Linked DNA regions of Homo sapiens: regions 2 and 3 are each linked to region 1. Evidence: promoter capture Hi-C in 16 types of primary human blood cells and fetal thymus (Javierre and others, 2016). All regions are on one chromosome and are shown on one strand. The core of a region is centred on a gene start or on the middle of the fragment in contact, and the rest is flanking DNA. Distances in the headings are between cores, read along the strand shown.

The links. The method cuts DNA at HindIII sites, captures the fragments that hold promoters and counts their contacts. A CHiCAGO score of 5 or more calls a contact.
Region 2: a contact is called between a fragment that was not itself captured here and the fragment with the promoter of MGAT4A in region 1, in 2 of 17 cell types (activated CD4 T cells and non-activated CD4 T cells). The highest score is 6.5, in activated CD4 T cells.
Region 3: a fragment that was not itself captured here is called in contact with the fragment with the promoter of MGAT4A in region 1 in 2 of 17 cell types (naive CD4 T cells and non-activated CD4 T cells); the score reaches 6.7 in naive CD4 T cells.

Annotation. Positions count from the first base shown.
Region 1 is chr2:98,729,752-98,732,539 of GRCh38, reverse strand. It overlaps MGAT4A (alpha-1,3-mannosyl-glycoprotein 4-beta-N-acetylglucosaminyltransferase A), which reads left to right and starts at 1,408. Exons shown (of 16, transcript NM_012214.3): 1 at 1,408-1,492. LOC107985922 (a long non-coding RNA gene) reads right to left here and starts at 1,259. Exons shown (of 2, transcript XR_007087150.1): 1 at 845-1,259. RefSeq lists silencers at 460-754, 861-1,050, 1,071-1,400. The HindIII fragment of the contact is 4,047 bases long and covers 1-2,788 here.
Region 2 is chr2:98,480,114-98,482,901 of GRCh38, reverse strand. All of the region lies in intron 1 of INPP4A (inositol polyphosphate-4-phosphatase type I A), which reads right to left. Among named protein-coding and RNA genes, the nearest start is that of INPP4A, 37 kb to the right of the region's middle. The HindIII fragment of the contact is 2,587 bases long and covers 146-2,732 here.
Region 3 is chr2:98,596,045-98,598,832 of GRCh38, reverse strand. No RefSeq gene overlaps it. Among named protein-coding and RNA genes, the nearest start is that of COA5, 11 kb to the left of the region's middle. The HindIII fragment of the contact is 1,472 bases long and covers 725-2,196 here.

The DNA of each region.
Region 1 (2,788 bases), core at 159-2,658:
TTTGGTATGGTTCCCCTAAACTAGTAAGAGACTATGGGAGCAGGGATGTTACGTGTCTCTTCCTGAAGTTTTAAATTAGCCGTCATGGAGAAACCTCAACATGGGAAGGCTGATAACTCCATGCATGTTCTAGCTGATTATTAATTATTCTTATCTTGAGATAAAAATAATGGAATTTATCGGAGGTGGGGAGGGGACCCTGTTCTGATTGATGCCTCTTAAGAGTTTTCGATTATTGAAATTACTGTTTTCTGAAAAGAATCTACTTATTACTTTGGGAGTTTGGCAGGAACAAGGCTGCCTCCTTGATCTTTGGCCCCTCAATTCCCTTACAGGTTACTCGGTAGGATTGCTGTAAGGATTATTGCGGCAATAAAGTTAACACATCCCTTGTTTTTGAACCATTACCAGCTGTGTGACCTTGGGCAAGCCCTTTCACCTCTCAGCTAGTTTCCTCTTATGAAAAATGGGGAATAAATTTAAAACATGAGATATGCAATAAACGATCTAACACCCATGCCTGCTATACGGTTGCCTGCTATACAGTTAAGTATTCAAAAGAGGACGTACCCAGGGGTAGTTACTGTTAGCACAAGTCCTATGGATACTATGAAAAACAGGGACAGACCACCCAGGCTTTCTACAAACGAGTCAGTTTTTTGCCTTTGAAGTTAACCTCTAACCTTGTGAAACGGCGACAGATAAGGACATGGGGTTCAAGAAAACGGGGCATAGTGGAAAATCAGGGGCATTAGCACCCAACGATGTGCGTTGAAACCCTAGTTGTTTTTCTCCTTCCCAGTTGCTGAAATCAGCCCTTCTGGCCGATTCGCGGGGTTCTCACCGGGAAGTTGGGGCTGTCGCGACCGTCCGCGGGGCCTCGGGAGCTCCTGTGGGGCTGGGCCCGGGACCTGTCCCCGGGGAGGCCGCCCAGTTTGGGCGGCCCGGAGCGGGGCGCGCCGCTGGGAAGGGGCCGGGTCGAGGCAGGCAGGCGCCTGGGAGCTGGGGCAGCCCCGGGTGGTCGGGTCGCGCGCCGAGGCGCAGGCCGAGGGCTCGCCCGGGCCTTTGTTGGCCGCCGGAGCGGTCCCTGCACGCGCCGGGAGGATCTCAGCCAGATGTGGCAGCGGGGCGGCGGGGAGCAGGCCGGCGCCCAGAGCTGGGACCCGAGACCGCGGCTCCGCTCCGGACCTCGCCGTGACACCGATGAGCCGGGCCAGCCTCCCGAACGCTCCGCAGGCTGCGTGGCGGCGCCCCTAAGTGACAGTCGCGCGGGCCACTGGTGGGGCGCGGGGCGCGGGGCGCGGGGCCCGCGGGGCCGGCCAATGGCTGGCGGGGTCGGGGCGGCCCGGCGGGGCGGGGCGGGGCGGGCGCTCCAGCGGCGGGGGCGGAGCCGGCGGGGCGGGCGGGGCGGCCCGCAGCGGCGGCGGCAGCGGCGGCGGCGGCTACAGCAGCTCCGCCGGCAGCCGCGGGAGCACGGCGACGCCAGCGGCGGGTGAGGGGCTCGCGGCGGCAGCGGCGGCGCGCGGGGGCGGGAGGGGGCGCGGGGCGGCTGCGCGGAGGGCGCGGGAGTTGGGGGCGGCGCCGGCGGCCGGGCTGGCGGCCCCGGGCTGCGGGAGATCCACCTGCTGGTAAAGGAGCCTACTGCGCCGCGGCCCGGCCGGAGCTCTGTGCGGGGGAGCTGTTGGCGCCTCTGGGCGCGGGGCCGGCTCCGGGAGCGGCTGGGCCTCGGGGGCGGGCGGCGGGGCGCGGGCCGGGCCGTCCTCCCAGCGTCCCTGCCCCGCACCGCGCACCCCTCGGGGTCGCGCGCCCTCTCTGCGGCCGGCTCGGCGCCTGGTGCGTTCCTGGCGCTCCCCGGCGTGGCGGGGCTCGGCGACTTTGGGGGAAAGTGGAGCAAAGTGCTGATCCGGGGGGTGCGGAGGGGGAGGGACAGCTGCCTGTGGGACCCGGGGGCTGCGCGGGAGTCGGCGCTTTCGCGGGGGCCGCGGGGCAGGTGGGCGGGGCCGGACGGTCCGAGGCGCAGGGGCAGGGGCTGCTCCCGAGGGGACCGGCCGTGCAGCCTTCGCAGGGAATTTTCACACAAAGTGAAGGGCTGCGGGGCCCGCGTGAAAGAGCAGCCCCCGTTTCCCCAGGCCTCAGCTCTCTCCGTAATGAGGAAGCTGCAGTAGGACCCTGAGGCTGGGTCTCGGTGACTCCACCAAGTGTGCCAGGTGACATCTCGGAGGCGAGCTTTTCTGAGCTGGCAGTCGAGCCACTTGCACACCCGCCTTTATTCCTCGCAACAGTGTGTTTCTCTGGAGCGGTTTCATTGCCTACATTCCGCATTGGAAAATAGAAGCAGGCACAATGTATGCTTTGAATGCTTTCCACGTATTTTGCTGTTGTGCTTTTGCTGTTGGACAGATTATTTGATAAAAGATAATGACAGTCGTTCGTTGGAACGTAGACTGTAAATTTAGAATAAAAATATGCGTTTTGTGGTTTATGTTTCTTTTTCTGAATGTTTAAAAAACAGTTTGATGAACAGGTTATCTTGACATAGATTTCTTTAACCCACACGTGTAAACCCGAAAACGCACTGGGCGATGACATTACGTAAGCTGTATTAAAGAAAACTACTGACCCGTTTATAAATGGCAAATAAATGAATTTTGCCACAATTGTGGTGTGTAAAGTTATATAGGCTTACGTCATGGATTTTATTGATTCCAGATATCAGGGATTATTGTGCCTTTCATTCTTAAGTCACCTCTACCCTGTCTGTGGGATGCTGATTAAGGAAGATGCCAAA
Region 2 (2,788 bases), core at 190-2,689, 250 kb after region 1:
CAGTGCTAAAAAAGTGTCAGGTTTGGAAGTACTTCAAATTTTGGATTTTCAGATCAGGGATGTTCAACCTCTATTATGCTTTCACTTATTTTCAAAAAAGCAATGTAAGTATAATTTTTTCAAGTGTAAGCTTAGATCAAAAGCTTTGCATTTCTCTTAAATGCAAGAGGACACATATATCTTTTTGCATCACATCCCAGGGTTGCTCAGAGGCTCATCCCTGGATGTCAACCACACTTGCCTACTGTCAGCACTGACTGGCTGGTCGCTGGCCTCCCTGTGACAGGCCCACTGGGGAGACACCTCCATTCTGGCAGGTGTGACAAGTGGAGGGGCCATTGCACAGAGGCCCACAGCTGCCCCTCTCTGCTTTCCAGGACAGCCAGTTGCACCTGCCTCTAGGTGCCCACCTTTCTGTTGGCTGCTTTCGTTTTTAATCCCACTCTTCTTCAGACTGCCCTCCTTGCAGGGCCCCATATTCTGAACCAGGTGCAACCAATCCTAACATCCCTTGAGGCCCTGCTCTGACTGGTGCCAATAAGCTAAACCACAGCTGGCCAAGATAGGAAAAGTGATTTAACCTGCTGTCCCTCTAGGATGGGATTTTACCCAGATCTCCAGAGTCTCAGCCCAATAATGTGGGAACCACAGGTGTAAAGGCAAAGAGGAAAAAAGCAGGATACAGAAAACATTTTACAGCAAGGTGGCCCAACAGGGTCCCTCACATCACCTGCTGTGCCACTTTAACGTGGCTTCTGCTTAAATTTCAAGTTTAAAAAATTATATTTATTTTAAAGACAGGATCTTACTCTGTCAACTAAACTGGTCTCAAACTCCTTGCCTCAAGTGATCCTCCCACTGCAGCTTCCCAAAAAACTGGGATTACAGGTGTGAGCCTAAACTTGGAGCTTTTAAAGTACACAGTGTTGAGTTGTTAAGCCAGGACAAGACATCAAACAATCCAACTCCAACATGGCAAACTCGTAATGAAGGGAGAAGGAGAGGCAAAGGTGCTGCTGAGAAAACCTTTCACTAGAGAACGGAAAGCCCAGCCAGAGGTGGTGCGTGGACAGGGAGCACCCTGAAGACCAGCAAGCTAGCTGACACTCAAGGCCAGCTGAGCATCACATTTACAGGCTGTCACAGCCTCCCTGTCTTCCTGGGATTCTGCAAAACACAATTCCACAGGGAGGACAAGCACTTAGAATTCTCCCCTGGTACAAAGCCTGCTTGCTCACATTGGATCACTTGGAAACATAATAAATCCTTCCTTCCCCATTAATCTGTTACTGAGGCTCAATGTGATATAATCATTTTATATAGAGAATTCTGTCACTGAATCTTTATATCTAAAACCACTTCAGATAGCTAAAACATATGCCAGCCTTAAGCCAAATGCAGCTCCCTAAAGAAACCAGCACCCCAAAGAGACCACAGGATTATCCAAGAGCCACAGGCAACCAGAATAAAACTGGAGGAGCGAGGGTTCTGGCTGCCAAGAGTGGTCGATTTATGCGTGCCAAGGGACCAAGCCCCCACTGGTATAGGAAATGTATGCCATTTCTTTCCCCCCAGGGAATTTTCAGAGGAAGACATCCTTGCTCCACACAGGATCACACCAGGTCCACATTCCTCCAAGTCTCCTGTTCACTTCCTGGCCTCTCTGTGGGGTGAGGGATTACAATGGGCAGCAGGTGGTGACACCCTCCACCTTGAGAGGGACGTGTCAGATGCAGGAAAAGTTCACAGTGCTCTGATTAAATTATGTTTTGTTAGGACACCCCCTCCCCAGTGTTGGCATTGAAAGGTAACTAGCAGAAGAACTTGAAGCACACCTGTGTAACTCAAGGTCAGTCCCCAGGTGCTGCTTTGCTCTCTTTGGGCCTCAGTTTCCTAAACTGCACACTGGTAATGCACAGCCTGCAGCCTGAGAAGCATGTGAGAATGGAGCACGTGCAGCACCACAACTCCTTCCTGGGGCTGGAAGGGTCCAGAGTGTGCGGCACCCTGCCCCCCACTCACCCTCCACAGGCCAGCACAGGGGGAGTTTGGCTGCGGAGACGGACACACGCGCCCTGGGGCTGCAGCTGGCAAGAAGACAGGCTAGTGGAAGATTCAGTGCTCTCCGGTCTGAGGCTGCCAGCAATGCAAGGGACTGGAGACGGGCACATTCTGCCTGGCAAGGGATGGGGGCCAGGAGTGAGGGACCATGTGTGCAAATGCACGGGAGCTAGCTGGCCACCTCAGTCATTTACTCCTTCAGTGCACAGAGGGTCACCAAGGCCTGGGGCCAAGTGAGAGGACAGACACCCATAGGAGAAAGAGCCCAGACTCAGCCCTTAATGCCCAGAATGTCAGTGCAGGGGAACCACAGTCAGTGATGATGTTCCTAACACAGGTAAAATGACGACAGTCCTTTCTACAGCAAAAAGCTGCTCTGTGTCGTAAGAGCATATGATAGGGCACCAGATAAAAATCTGGTAAGTCACTCCACCTCTCTCTGAGCATCCCTTCCCTCCTCTGCAAAATGGAAATGAATAATAATTACCTCATCAGGTAGCTGGGGATTAATAAACTGATCCTAGACAGACATCTGGCCCAATGCCCAGCATATGGTAAATGCTCAGTGAGCCAACCTCTCAGGGCTGAGTTCCCCACCCACCCAAGACAGTCAGAACCAGGAGCCCCTGGCAAGGCTCCACCCAATGCCCTACAGAAACAGAAAAAAAGCTTTAGTTTCAGCAGAGGCTGAGAAGGCAGGCCTCTGGGGCTGGCAGGGAGGGTGTCA
Region 3 (2,788 bases), core at 211-2,710, 130 kb after region 1:
GCAGTGGCATGATTACAGCTCACTGCAGCCTCACCCAGGCTCCTCCTAACTCAGCCTCCTGAGTAGCTGGGACCACAGTCACGTGACACCATGCCCAGCTAATTTTTTTTGTATTTTTGTGGAGACAGGGTCTCCCCATGTTGCCCAGGCTGGCCTCAAACTCTTGGGCTCAGGTGATCCTCCCACCTCGGCCTCCCAAAGTGCTGGGATTACAGGCGTGGGCCACTGTTCCTGGCCCAACTTTAACATTTTGATGAACTGCCAAAATTTTCCACAGTAGCTGTACCATTTTACATTTCCACCAACAATCTTTGAGGGTTCCAGTTTCTCCACATCACCAGCAGTTATAATTCATGTTTGATTACAGCCATTCTACTGGGTATGAAGTGGTATCTACTTGAGATTTTGACTTTCATTTCTCTAACGACTAATGATGTCTGAGCATGTTTTCATGTGCTTATTGGCCATTTGTATGTCTTTAGAGAAATGTCTATTCAAGTCCTTAGTCCAGTTTTCAGTTCGGTTCTTTTTATTGTTGTAACAGTTTTTTGTATGTTGTAGATACAAGTCACCTAAAGATAAGTGATTCACAGATTCTCCCAATTTGTGGTTTGTCTCTTCACTTTCTTGATGGTATCCTTTGAAGTATAATTTCTAATTTTGGTGAATTACAATTTATTTTTTTCTTTTGGTGTATCTAAGAAACCATTGCCTAATCTAAGCTTAATGGAAATTTATTGTTTTATCTTCATTTAAGAGTTTTACATTTTTACCTCTTACATGTGAGTCTGATTCATTTTAAAAATAATTTTTCAGGCTTTTATTTGCAATATATTTTTAAAATTTTAAATGTAAGATACATATAAAATTTACTATCTTAACCATTTTTAAGTGTACAGTTCAACAGTGTTGAGTGCACTCACAATTATGCAACCAATCTCCAGAACTCCCCTTCACCCCCACCACCCCTCCAACTCTCCACCTTGACAGTCACCATTCTACTTTATGTCTACAGTAAGTGCCTCGTGTGGAATCATACCACATTTGTCTTTGACTGGCATATTTCACTTAGCATATGTTCTCAAGGTTCATCCATGTTGTAGTATGTATCAAAATTTCCTTCCTTTTTTAAGGCCAAATAATATTCAGTTGTATGTATATAGCACATTTTGTTTACCTATCTGTCAGTGGACACTTGGGTTGCTTGTGCCTTTGGGTAACTGTGAATAATGCTGCTGTGAATATGGGTATACAGATACCTCTGTGACCCTGCTTTCAGTTCTTGTGGGTATATACCCATAAGTGGAATTGCTGGAGCACACAGTTATTCTAATTTTTTCAGGATCAGCCGTACTGTTTTCCACAGCAGCCATACTAGTCTACAGTAACAGCACACAAGGATTTCAACTTTTCCACATTCTTGCCTATACTTGTTATTTTTTATTTTTTTTTAAATAGTGGCCATCCTAATAGGTGTGAAGTATCTCAGTGTGGTTTTAATTTGCATCTTCCTAATGATTAGTGGTGAACATAATTTCATGTACTTGTTGGCCATTTGTATATCTCTTTGGAGAGATGTCTCAAGTCATTTTGAATGAGTTAAATCATTCAAATGGGTTAAATCCCTTAAAATGGTTAAGGTGGTAGATGGGTATTAAAAAAATAGGTTGTTTGCTCTTTTATTGTTGAAGTTCCTTGTATATTCTAGATGTTAACCTCTTATCAGATGCATGATTTGCAAATATTTTCTCCCATTCTGTAGGCTGCCTTTTTTTTTTTTTTTAAATGCACAGGGGTTTTGCATTTTGGTGTAGTCTAGTTTGTTTTTACTTTTGTTGCCTGTGCTTTTGGTGTCATACCCAAGTCACCGCTGACTCCAATGAAGTTTCTCCTGTGTTTTCTTCTAGGAGTTAGAGTTTTAGCTTTTAAATTATGTCTTTGATCTATTTTGAGTTAACTTTTGTATATGGTGTGAGTGTCCAGCTTTTTTGCCTAAGGATAGCTGGTTTTCCCAACACCATTTGTTGAAAAGATGTTCTTTCCCCATTGAATGGTCTTGGCATCCTGTGGAAAATCATTTGACCATATATGCCAGGGTTTATTTCTGGGCATGCTATTCTATTCTGCACTTCTGTCTGTACATATTTATGCCAGTGCCACATTATTTTGATTACTGTAGCTCTGTAATAATAAGCTTTGAAATCAGGAAGTATGCGACCTCCAGCTTTGTTCTTTTTCAAGATTGTTTTGGCTACCTGGGGTTCCTTGAGATTCGATGTAAATCTTAGGATGGATTTTTCTATTTCCACACACAAAAAAATCAGTTGGGAATTTGATGGGGGGGGGGTACATTGAATCTGTAGCTCACTTTTGATAGTACTGTCATCTTAACAATATTAGGTCTTTCAATCCATGTGCGCAAGATGTCTTTCCATTTTTTGGCATTCTTAATTTCTTTGCAGCAAAATTTTGTAGTTTTCAATATACAAGACTTTTGCCTCTTTGGTTGTTTATTCCTGAGTATTTTCTTTATGATGCTACTGTACATAGAACTGTTTCCTTAATTTCCTTTGGAGATTGTTCAACAATGGTGGGTTGTTTTTTTTTTAAACTTTTAGAAATACATTTAATTCAATTCTATAAATATTAGTCATTCAAAATCTGGCCACAATCTTAGGAATACAAAAGTAAAATCCCAGTTCTTTTTTTCCTAAAATGTCACAATGTAATAGATCTAACATTGCATATATTTCTGATGTGATGAAATGTTGATATATATTTTCTATCG